Regions from separate parts of the Homo sapiens genome. Here all the other regions are linked to region 2. The links are contacts of gene promoters, found by promoter capture Hi-C in blood cells and fetal thymus (Javierre and others, 2016). All regions are on one chromosome and are shown on one strand. Each heading gives the region's core, a stretch centred on a gene start or on the middle of the fragment in contact. The rest is flanking DNA. Distances are from core to core; before and after follow the strand shown.

Region 1 (2,700 bases), core at 201-2,700, 8.5 Mb before region 2:
CCCAAAGTGCTGGGATTATAGGCATGAGCCACCGCGCCTGGCCTTTATAATTTTTAAAAATACACGGTAACTTGTGATAAGACCTTGGGCCCTTGGTGCAAACAGAAATCAGTTAACTGTGAGCACACCCTGTCCCCCAACTTCATGACCTCACACACACACATAAGTTAAAAACCCATGAAATTCTGTACCCTCAATGAAAGGGTAGACTAGATAGAAGCTTTTCTTCTGGCATAGTAAGAAGCTTTTCTGTCAAGGCACAAGCTCTGAAAGAGAAAAAAACAAGGAAGATCTCTCTCCCTTGAGAATTTGAATCATAGTTTGTACTCCCACAAATCTGGGTTCAAATTTATAATATCTGAATGATCTTAGAACTTCTAAGCCAAGAAAGAAATTCATGTAAAAATTGCTCACTAGCCAGTGATAACCTTAGGGGTCTCTGACAGAAGAAACATTTTTTTCTGTATCACTAAAAATGAGCCATAAAAAAAAAAGCTAAAAGGAATCAATGTACAAAGCAAAAGGAATCAATCCACAAACAAAAAGGTCATCAAATACACAAATAGAAGTATTAGACCCCTAAATGCAAAAGGATTTATCTATATGATATCATTTATGCAGTTTAAAAATATAACATAGTAGTACCATTCATAGATACATATAAATTCAGTGAAAGTACAAAAACATAACAGATATTAATCATACCAATTTAAAAATAGTGGCTAACTCTGGGGAAGGAATAGTGTCAAGAAAAGCCTGAATAATTGATCCAGACTGAAGGAGAATTGAGCAACAAGCTAACTGGATGCAGCACATGATCTTTCTTGGCTGGGACGTTTTTGCTGTAAAGACATTGGAATAATTGGCAAAGTTTGAGTGGGGTTTCTAGGCAAAGGGTACACAGAAGTTTTTGTACTATTCTTGCAACAGTTTTCTTAGTTTGTAAATTGTTTCAAGTTAAAAAATTTGTTTTTAAAAAGAGGATGAAAATGAAAAATAGGAAACAGTTTCAGAGAAGAAATTGCCAGGATAGACCAATTGGTGGTGGGAAATAAGAGGAAATAATCAAAGGGGACTCAGATTTCTGGCTTAGGTGATTTGGTGTGTATGATTCAATTTATCAATGTAGGAAACCCAAGAAAAGAAGAATTTTCAGGAAAAGCAAACTATAACAGACTTGCCACTGGAAATATTGAATCTATGGATAAATAGTTGGAAATTTAGGCTGGGGGTGATGGTGTCACAAAAGAGCTTAGCACTGTAAACATCTTGATTTGATTACTTTTTTCACTTACTAAATCATTTGGGAATTCACTATGTTGCCTGTGTAAACCATAAAATATATAAAAATAAATAGGAAACGGACACTGCCCTTAAGGGACTGATATCTGGTAAGAGAAGTAGAATCAGTCTGTAGGCAAAGGGTAGAGACTGATGGAGCAAGTTCTAGAGGGTGACAAATTAGTTCTCAACCTTGGTCACACATTAAGAACACCTAGAGGAACTCCTAAAACATCCCAATGCCCAGTCCACACTCTGGGACTGGATCCAGGCATCAGTGGTTGCTTAAACTCTCCAGGTGATGCTGATGTGCAGCCAAGATTAAGGGAGCAGTGGCTCTACTCAGAACACCTGAGACACCTATTCCTTTGAAACATTTGGCAATGATGCAGGAAAGAGTGTGGAGAGAACAGGAGGTGGAAATAAGGAAATTTGGTTGAAGAGGCTTCTGCCAAACAGAGTGATGATTTATATTTTCTCTGTAAAGAAAGCGAATCAGCTGGGTGCGGTGGCTCACACCTGTCATCCCAGCACTTTGGGAGGCTGTGGCAGGCGGATCACTTGAGGCCAGGAGTTCGAGACCAGCCTGGCCCACATGGTGAAACTCTGTCTCTACTAAAGATATAAAAAATTAGCCGGGCGTGGTGATGCATGCTTGTAATCCCAGCTACTTGGAAGGCTGAGGCAGGAGAATCCTTGAACCCAGGAGGCAGAGGTTGCAGTGAGCTGAGATCACACCATTGCACTCCAGCCTGGGTGACACAGCAAAACTCTGTCTCAAAAAAAAAAGTGTCAAAGGCTAAGAATAAGGATATATGAAAATAAGGTAAGTCTTTTATGGAGAATGGGGAAACAGGATTACAGCTACAGAGGGTGCAAAAGAAAGAAGTAACATTGTTGTTTTCCCAAGACTGGGAAGATTGAAACACTTGAGGATGAGGATTCAGGGACACCACTGTGTCCACCATTAAAGAATTTCCCCTTTAATGGTGGACACGGTGGTGTGATCCTTTTGTAGAGACGAGCATAGGTTATGGCAAATATACCTACTTTAAAAACAGTGCTCTGGGAAGAGAGTAAGTGCTTTTCCACATAAAGATCTAAAATAGACAATAAATGAGAAATAGGGTTTTTTATTATATATTCATTTTTCCATATTTCTGGAAAATGAAACAGACATGGAGTATTTCAAAGCTGGGAGAGATCATTATATTGGAGTTACCTTAGAAAGAGGGGGCTGTTTCTGCCACCACAACAAAGAATGAAACAACACAAATATTTACGTTTTCTTCTTGTCCTCATAATGCTTTTACTGCACTCGTCTTTCAACCTTTAACATCTACTGCATCTGTGACTGTTGTTTCAGTAAAACACGGAAGCTTGAATGTAAGCTCATTTCATTGCCTGCTGCACAACCAC
Region 2 (2,797 bases), core at 148-2,647:
TACCAACAGCGGGAATGGTAATGGTGAATGGATGCAGGGTTTTAAAATCAGCCAACTTTGTTCTGACTTCCGTAGGTCAGTGACTGGAGTCACTGCCTAACAACCTAAATTCCCAGATTTATCTCATGAAATGTGATTTCTCATACAAACAAAAGTTGTGAGAACTCCATGAGCAAGACCAGCTGCTTGTGGGGACTGCCAAATTTTAAACTGTTATTTGAACAGCAAAAAGACCAGGCAAACATCCGAGAGACAGACCTAACTGCAGATAAGTCTTGTAATCTTGTTCACTATAGTCAAAACAGAATGGATTGCTTATTCTGTTACCCTATTGGTATTGCTCACATTTTAAAATTTAGGTGCTGGGCTCAAGAATGATAATTTTATTATTAAGCTTCAAGAGTCACATTGTATTGTATGCATTGAATATCACGAAATCGAAAACACTGAAAAGCTAGCGTTTACATTCTTGGATCATACCCCCAAAGGCCAAGGATTCCCACTGGCCGCTTGCAGCAGGGCTGTCTCCTGTGAAGGCAAGAGACAAACGAGGAGCGTTATGACACTTTGCTCCCAGGACTTTGGCGCACAGTTCCCATGAGTCCAGGTCCGTCCAGTCAACATCCTGAAGCCAGGACTGGCAGGTCCTGACCCTCCCTTTTTGCACCCGTAAGGGGAAGGGCCCGGGAATCTGGACCTTGTCTAGAGTCCCGGCGCCAGTACCAGTTCGGAGGGCATCCTGGAGGTTGTTACTAACCCGAGCCTCTTCCAGGCTTCCCAGGCACCAGGGTTGCTAACAGCTCCACGGGGGCGAATAATTTTGTTTATTTTGTTAACTGTGGTTATCTCCAACACTCAGTTCAGACCTGAGCCGGGCAAAGTCTCACCTTGTCTCCTGGTCACTTCCCTGCTTGTTTGTTTCTTCCTAACTCCCAAGTGTCTTTCGCCCAGTTCATCCCCACCTCAGCAGCCCAAGGCTCGGCGGGGACGGTCGGGGTTCGAAGCCTGCAGCTAAACTTAGAGGGTTCAGGCTTTGCTGGGAGGCCTCCCTGTGCTCAGAAGAGCCGGGGGTAAGCTGGGCGGTCGCCTTGGGTGCAGACAGAGGCGCAGGGCCTCGGCCTCCAAGAAAATTCCCAAACCGAGAGGCTGAGCTTCGCGTCTGTAGTTACTGAGCAGGAGCTTCTGGGCGGAACTTCTAAGGGCCCCGCCCGCCCCGTCTGCCCTGACCCTCGCCCGGACTCGCCTCGCCCACGTCCCGTTTCGCTTCGCCCCAGCTCCGTCTCGCCCCGCCCCCGTCCCGCCCGGTTGCGGAGGCGCGGGGCGCCCCCGGGTGGCCGCGGGCAGTGCTGCTCCTGGCCGGTGGAGGCGGCGGCTGCGGCAGCGGAAGGGGAAGCGCTGAGGCGGTGGGGCCCACAGCCATGGCGGAGCCTGTGCAGGAGGAGCTCTCGGTCCTGGCCGCGATTTTCTGCAGGCCCCACGAGTGGGAGGTGCTGAGCCGCTCAGGTGACTACCCGCGCGCGGGAGGGACAGGGCGCCCTCAGGGGCCACCCGCGTTCGCTTTGCGTCTCCTCCCCACCACGGAGCCTGGGCACCCCGCCTGGGCCCACGTATGGGGACCGGGTTAGTTGAATGATGGAATGACACGCCCGGAGGCCGGAGTGGTGTCGCAGCGGGCGGGAGTGTGAGGCGACCCCAGAAACACTAAGAGAGCGGCGCGGCCCACTGGGGCCTCTGCCGCCGGTCCCGCTCCCGGAGCCGGGGGCCCCTGCGTGCGCACCCCCAGGCCCTCCCCCAGCCTCCCACCCCTCAGATCTCACCCTATAAAGAAGCCTGTGCTGACGCCCCCTCGTTGTTCTGTGTCCTTCCTAAGCACTATGCCCTAGGCCCCCCCGAGAGCACTCCCCGGTTCTAACTCTACACGGGTATTTGTAGGTCTTAAGTTGCAGGAGGGCAGGGTCTGTTTGGTAATGACTCCAGGCACCTGGTAGGTAGTAGGTAAATGTTTGTTGACTGAACTTTTTCATTTATCCAGTGCTCAACCTCAACTTTATCTGCATTCTATTTCCAAGTTGATTGCTTTTCTGATACTTTTTTTTTTTTAGGTGGAGTCTCTCTTGTTGCCCTGGCTGGAGTGCAGTGGATCCATCTGGACTCACTGCAGCCTCCGCCTCCCGAGTAGCTGGGATCACAGGCGCGTGCCACCATGCCTGGCTGAATTTTATTTATTTTATTTTATTTATTTTTTATTTTTTAAGACGGAGTCTTGCTTTGTCGCCTAGGCTGGAGTGCAGTGGCGCGATCTCGGGTCACTGCAACCTCCGCCTCCCGGGTTCACGCCATTCTCCTGCCTCAGCCTCCCGAGTAGCTGGGACTACAGGCGCCCACCACCACGCCCGGCTAATTTTTTGTATTTTTTTTTTTAGTAGAGACAGGGTTTCACCGTGTTAGCCAGGATGGTCTCGATCTCCGGACCTCGTGGTCCGCCCGCCTCGGCCTCCGAAAGTGCTGGGATTACAGGCGTGAGCCACTGCGCCCGGCCTTTTTTTTTTTTTTTTTTTTTTTTTGAGACAGAGTCTTGTTCTGTCCCCCAGGCTGGAGTGCAGTGGCGCGATCTCGGCTCACTGCAAGCTCCACCTCCTGGGTTCACACCATTCTCCTGCCTCAGCCTCCCGAGTAGCTGGCACTACAGGCGCCTGCCACCATGACTGGCTAATTTTTTGTATTTTTAGTAGAGACGGGGTTTCACCATGTTGGCCAGGCTGGTCTCAATCTCCTGACCTCGTGATCCGCGCGTCTC
Region 3 (2,700 bases), core at 159-2,658, 8.3 Mb after region 2:
CCTCATGCACACACCTACATTAAATTTTATAGCTATGTATAATGTTTTCCAGTTTGAGAACTGAGAATTGGTATATTCTTGTGGGGTCTAATTGGCATTCCCATTACCAATAGTAAGGTTAAACACCTTTCCATATGTTAATGGGCCATTCAGGTTTCCTTTTTGTAAAATCACCTGTTTATATTCTTTAAACACATTTTTCTATTAATTTGTCTTTCTTTTTCCAATTTTTTGGTACCAGCTGTATTTTCTGACGTTTTTACGTAAGAGAAGATAATCTAGCATTGTCACATTACAGAAAAACAACTACTTATGACAGTACCATTTATCAGGTGAAACATTTTCTCTAGGCATCTTCTGAAATGTTTAGTACATTTTAATTTTTTGATTGACTAATGTATTAGTCTGTTTTCATGCTGCTGATAAAGACATACCTGATACTGGGAAGAAAAAGAGGTTTAATGGACTTACAGTTCCACATAGCTGGGGAGGCTCCACAATCATAGTGGAAAGCAAGGAGCAGGTCACATCTTACATGAATAGCAGTAGCCAAAGCGAGAGTGCTAGTGCAGGGAAACTTTTTTAAAAACCATCAGATCTCATGAGACTTATTCACTATCACAAGAACAGCATGGGAAAGACTCGCCTCCATGATTCCTTTACCTCCCACCGGGTTCCTCTCACAAAATGTGGGAATTGTGGGAGTTACAATTCAAGATGAGATTTGGGTGAGGACACAGACAAACCATATCAACTAATACTTAAATGTATAGGTTTATATTAAGAAAAATAGCCTTCCAGGTTGCATACATTAAAAAAAATGTGCCATCCAAATGGATTCCAAATTGTAAATGGAGTTAAGAAAGTATTTTAGAACAGGAATATTTTTCGGGTGCTATTTCCCTATCTTCTCTAGATTCCATCCCAGAACAGAAGACATAAGCAAGCTATACCCCATAAGAAAAGGCTAATTACCCCTGCAATAGCCAAAAGTTCACATAAATCCTGCCTCTGTTCATTTGTTATTTAAAGGCAGAGACTAAGTCTACAAATAACTATGTGTGAGATCCACACATAATCTAATCTATCAATAAATAACAAAAATAATATTGACATTTTAACTTTCTGATCATTTTGCATAGAAATCTTTAGACAGGTTTCCTAAAGTCATCATGCAAACCACTGAATATGTAATCCCTGGTTGTCAGCAGTGTTTTTTATTTTCTTGATAATAACATTAATTTATTCACTGATAAATGTTTTAAAACATATGTCAAATATTCACTAATATATATTTTAACATTCAATGATCATTAATCTATTTGTAAGGTACTATGTTAATGCTTGGAAGATATACAGACGAATATAGAAATTCCTGTCTTCAAGGAGCTTATTAGTAATAATGAAATTATGTACATAATTATTTATAATAAAATATATTTATGATAATTTTATAACAGAGGTGAAAAGTTCTACAATAACAAATGGGATGAAGACATGAATTCTACCTTGGGAAAAAAGAAAAGACTTTGATGATGTTTGTTTTAAGTTACTAAGTAATTGGATGGCTTATTACACAGTGACAACCAAAACACTGAAAAATCTAGTGTTCAGGTTTTTTGTTGTTGTTGTTGTTATTGTTGTTTTTGTTTCCTTTGCCAGTATGGGAAGAGAATAGAGGAGGCAGAGATGGTGTTGACTGACAATGAAGAATTTAATGAGAAAGTCATATGTAAGCATCTGAAGAAAGTCAGGGAGCTAAGCATGCAGATATCTGTAGGAACAGCATCCCTGAAAGAGAGAATGGTAAAGGCAAAGGTCTTAGTTATGGGTCTGAAGTGTTCAAGCACAGCCAGAAGGTCAGTGTATTTATAGCAGAGGGAAAGAAGAGGGGAAGAATAGATGAAGTCATAAAAATAATATACTGGAGGAGTTAGATCATGTAAATTCTCACAGATCAAAATAACTTCAGCATTTACTCTAAGTGAGGGGGAAAGCTACTGCAGAGTTTTGAAGATTTAACAGAATCACTCTAGCTGCTGTGATAAAAATATATTGAAGAAGCAATATATTTTTAATCATGTTAAAATGGACTTTTCATGGTAAAAACTAGTCCTAAGCTATCAATACCTTTAAGAGAAAAAAGTTATTTACTACTTATGCAAAGTTTGGTGGGAGGGAAGTTATTCTGTAGGGGAGCTGTCATTGATGTGGTGAGTTGGTACTCTAGGCTATGTTTAGCTTGAGGTTCTATCACCTCAATATGTGGCCTACATGATCACTGTTTTCATACCCAATCTTCCATGCAATACTCTGGAATTGACACATGTTGCTTTCATTAACACCCCATCTACCAAAATGAATCACATAGTCCCAACTAACAACAAGAGAGTTGGGAAATGGAAAGGAATATATGAAATAATTGTTGAGTCTTACTGTGTCGTCCAGACAGAAAGGGCAAAAGTAGGAGACTAGCCATGAGGCTATGACAATATTCCAGATAGATCATGGCTGCTTGGACAAGGATGGTAGAAACAGTGGGAACAGTGAAAAATAGTCAAATTTTGAATATAATTTGAAGGTAAGATAAAGGGAATTTGCTGAATGTCAAGGCATGAGATATAAAAGATATAAAGGAGTCACAGGTAACTGAGATGGGAAAAACTGAAAGAAAAGTTTTGAATACTATCAAGAGCTCAG

Evidence for each region. Contacts are between HindIII fragments. The CHiCAGO score rates a contact against its expected background, and 5 or more counts as called.
Region 1: a contact is called between a fragment that was not itself captured here and the fragment with the promoter of RWDD3 in region 2, in 2 of 17 cell types (total CD4 T cells and activated CD4 T cells). The highest score is 7.1, in total CD4 T cells.
Region 3: a contact is called between a fragment that was not itself captured here and the fragment with the promoter of RWDD3 in region 2, in 2 of 17 cell types (total CD4 T cells and non-activated CD4 T cells). The highest score is 7.5, in total CD4 T cells.

Annotation. Positions count from the first base shown.
Region 1 is chr1:86,701,104-86,703,803 of GRCh38, forward strand. CLCA4-AS1 (CLCA4 antisense RNA 1) reads right to left here. Exons shown (of 5, transcript NR_135837.1): 1 at 2,504-2,700. Among named protein-coding and RNA genes, the nearest start is that of CLCA4-AS1, 2.0 kb to the right of the region's middle. RefSeq lists an enhancer at 2,677-2,700. The HindIII fragment of the contact is 2,416 bases long and covers 243-2,658 here.
Region 2 is chr1:95,232,813-95,235,609 of GRCh38, forward strand. It overlaps RWDD3 (RWD domain containing 3), which reads left to right and starts at 1,398. Exons shown (of 4, transcript NM_015485.5): 1 at 1,398-1,503. The coding sequence starts at 1,419. The region is part of intron 7 of TLCD4-RWDD3 (TLCD4-RWDD3 readthrough); the gene reads left to right. RWDD3-DT (RWDD3 divergent transcript) reads right to left here and starts at 1,170. Exons shown (of 4, transcript NR_125949.1): 1 at 888-1,170. RefSeq lists silencers at 1,139-1,468, 1,679-1,858. The HindIII fragment of the contact is 4,366 bases long and covers 393-2,797 here.
Region 3 is chr1:103,518,263-103,520,962 of GRCh38, forward strand. The region is part of intron 1 of RNPC3-DT (RNPC3 divergent transcript); the gene reads right to left. Among named protein-coding and RNA genes, the nearest start is that of RNPC3-DT, 5.9 kb to the right of the region's middle. The HindIII fragment of the contact is 5,087 bases long and covers 1-2,700 here.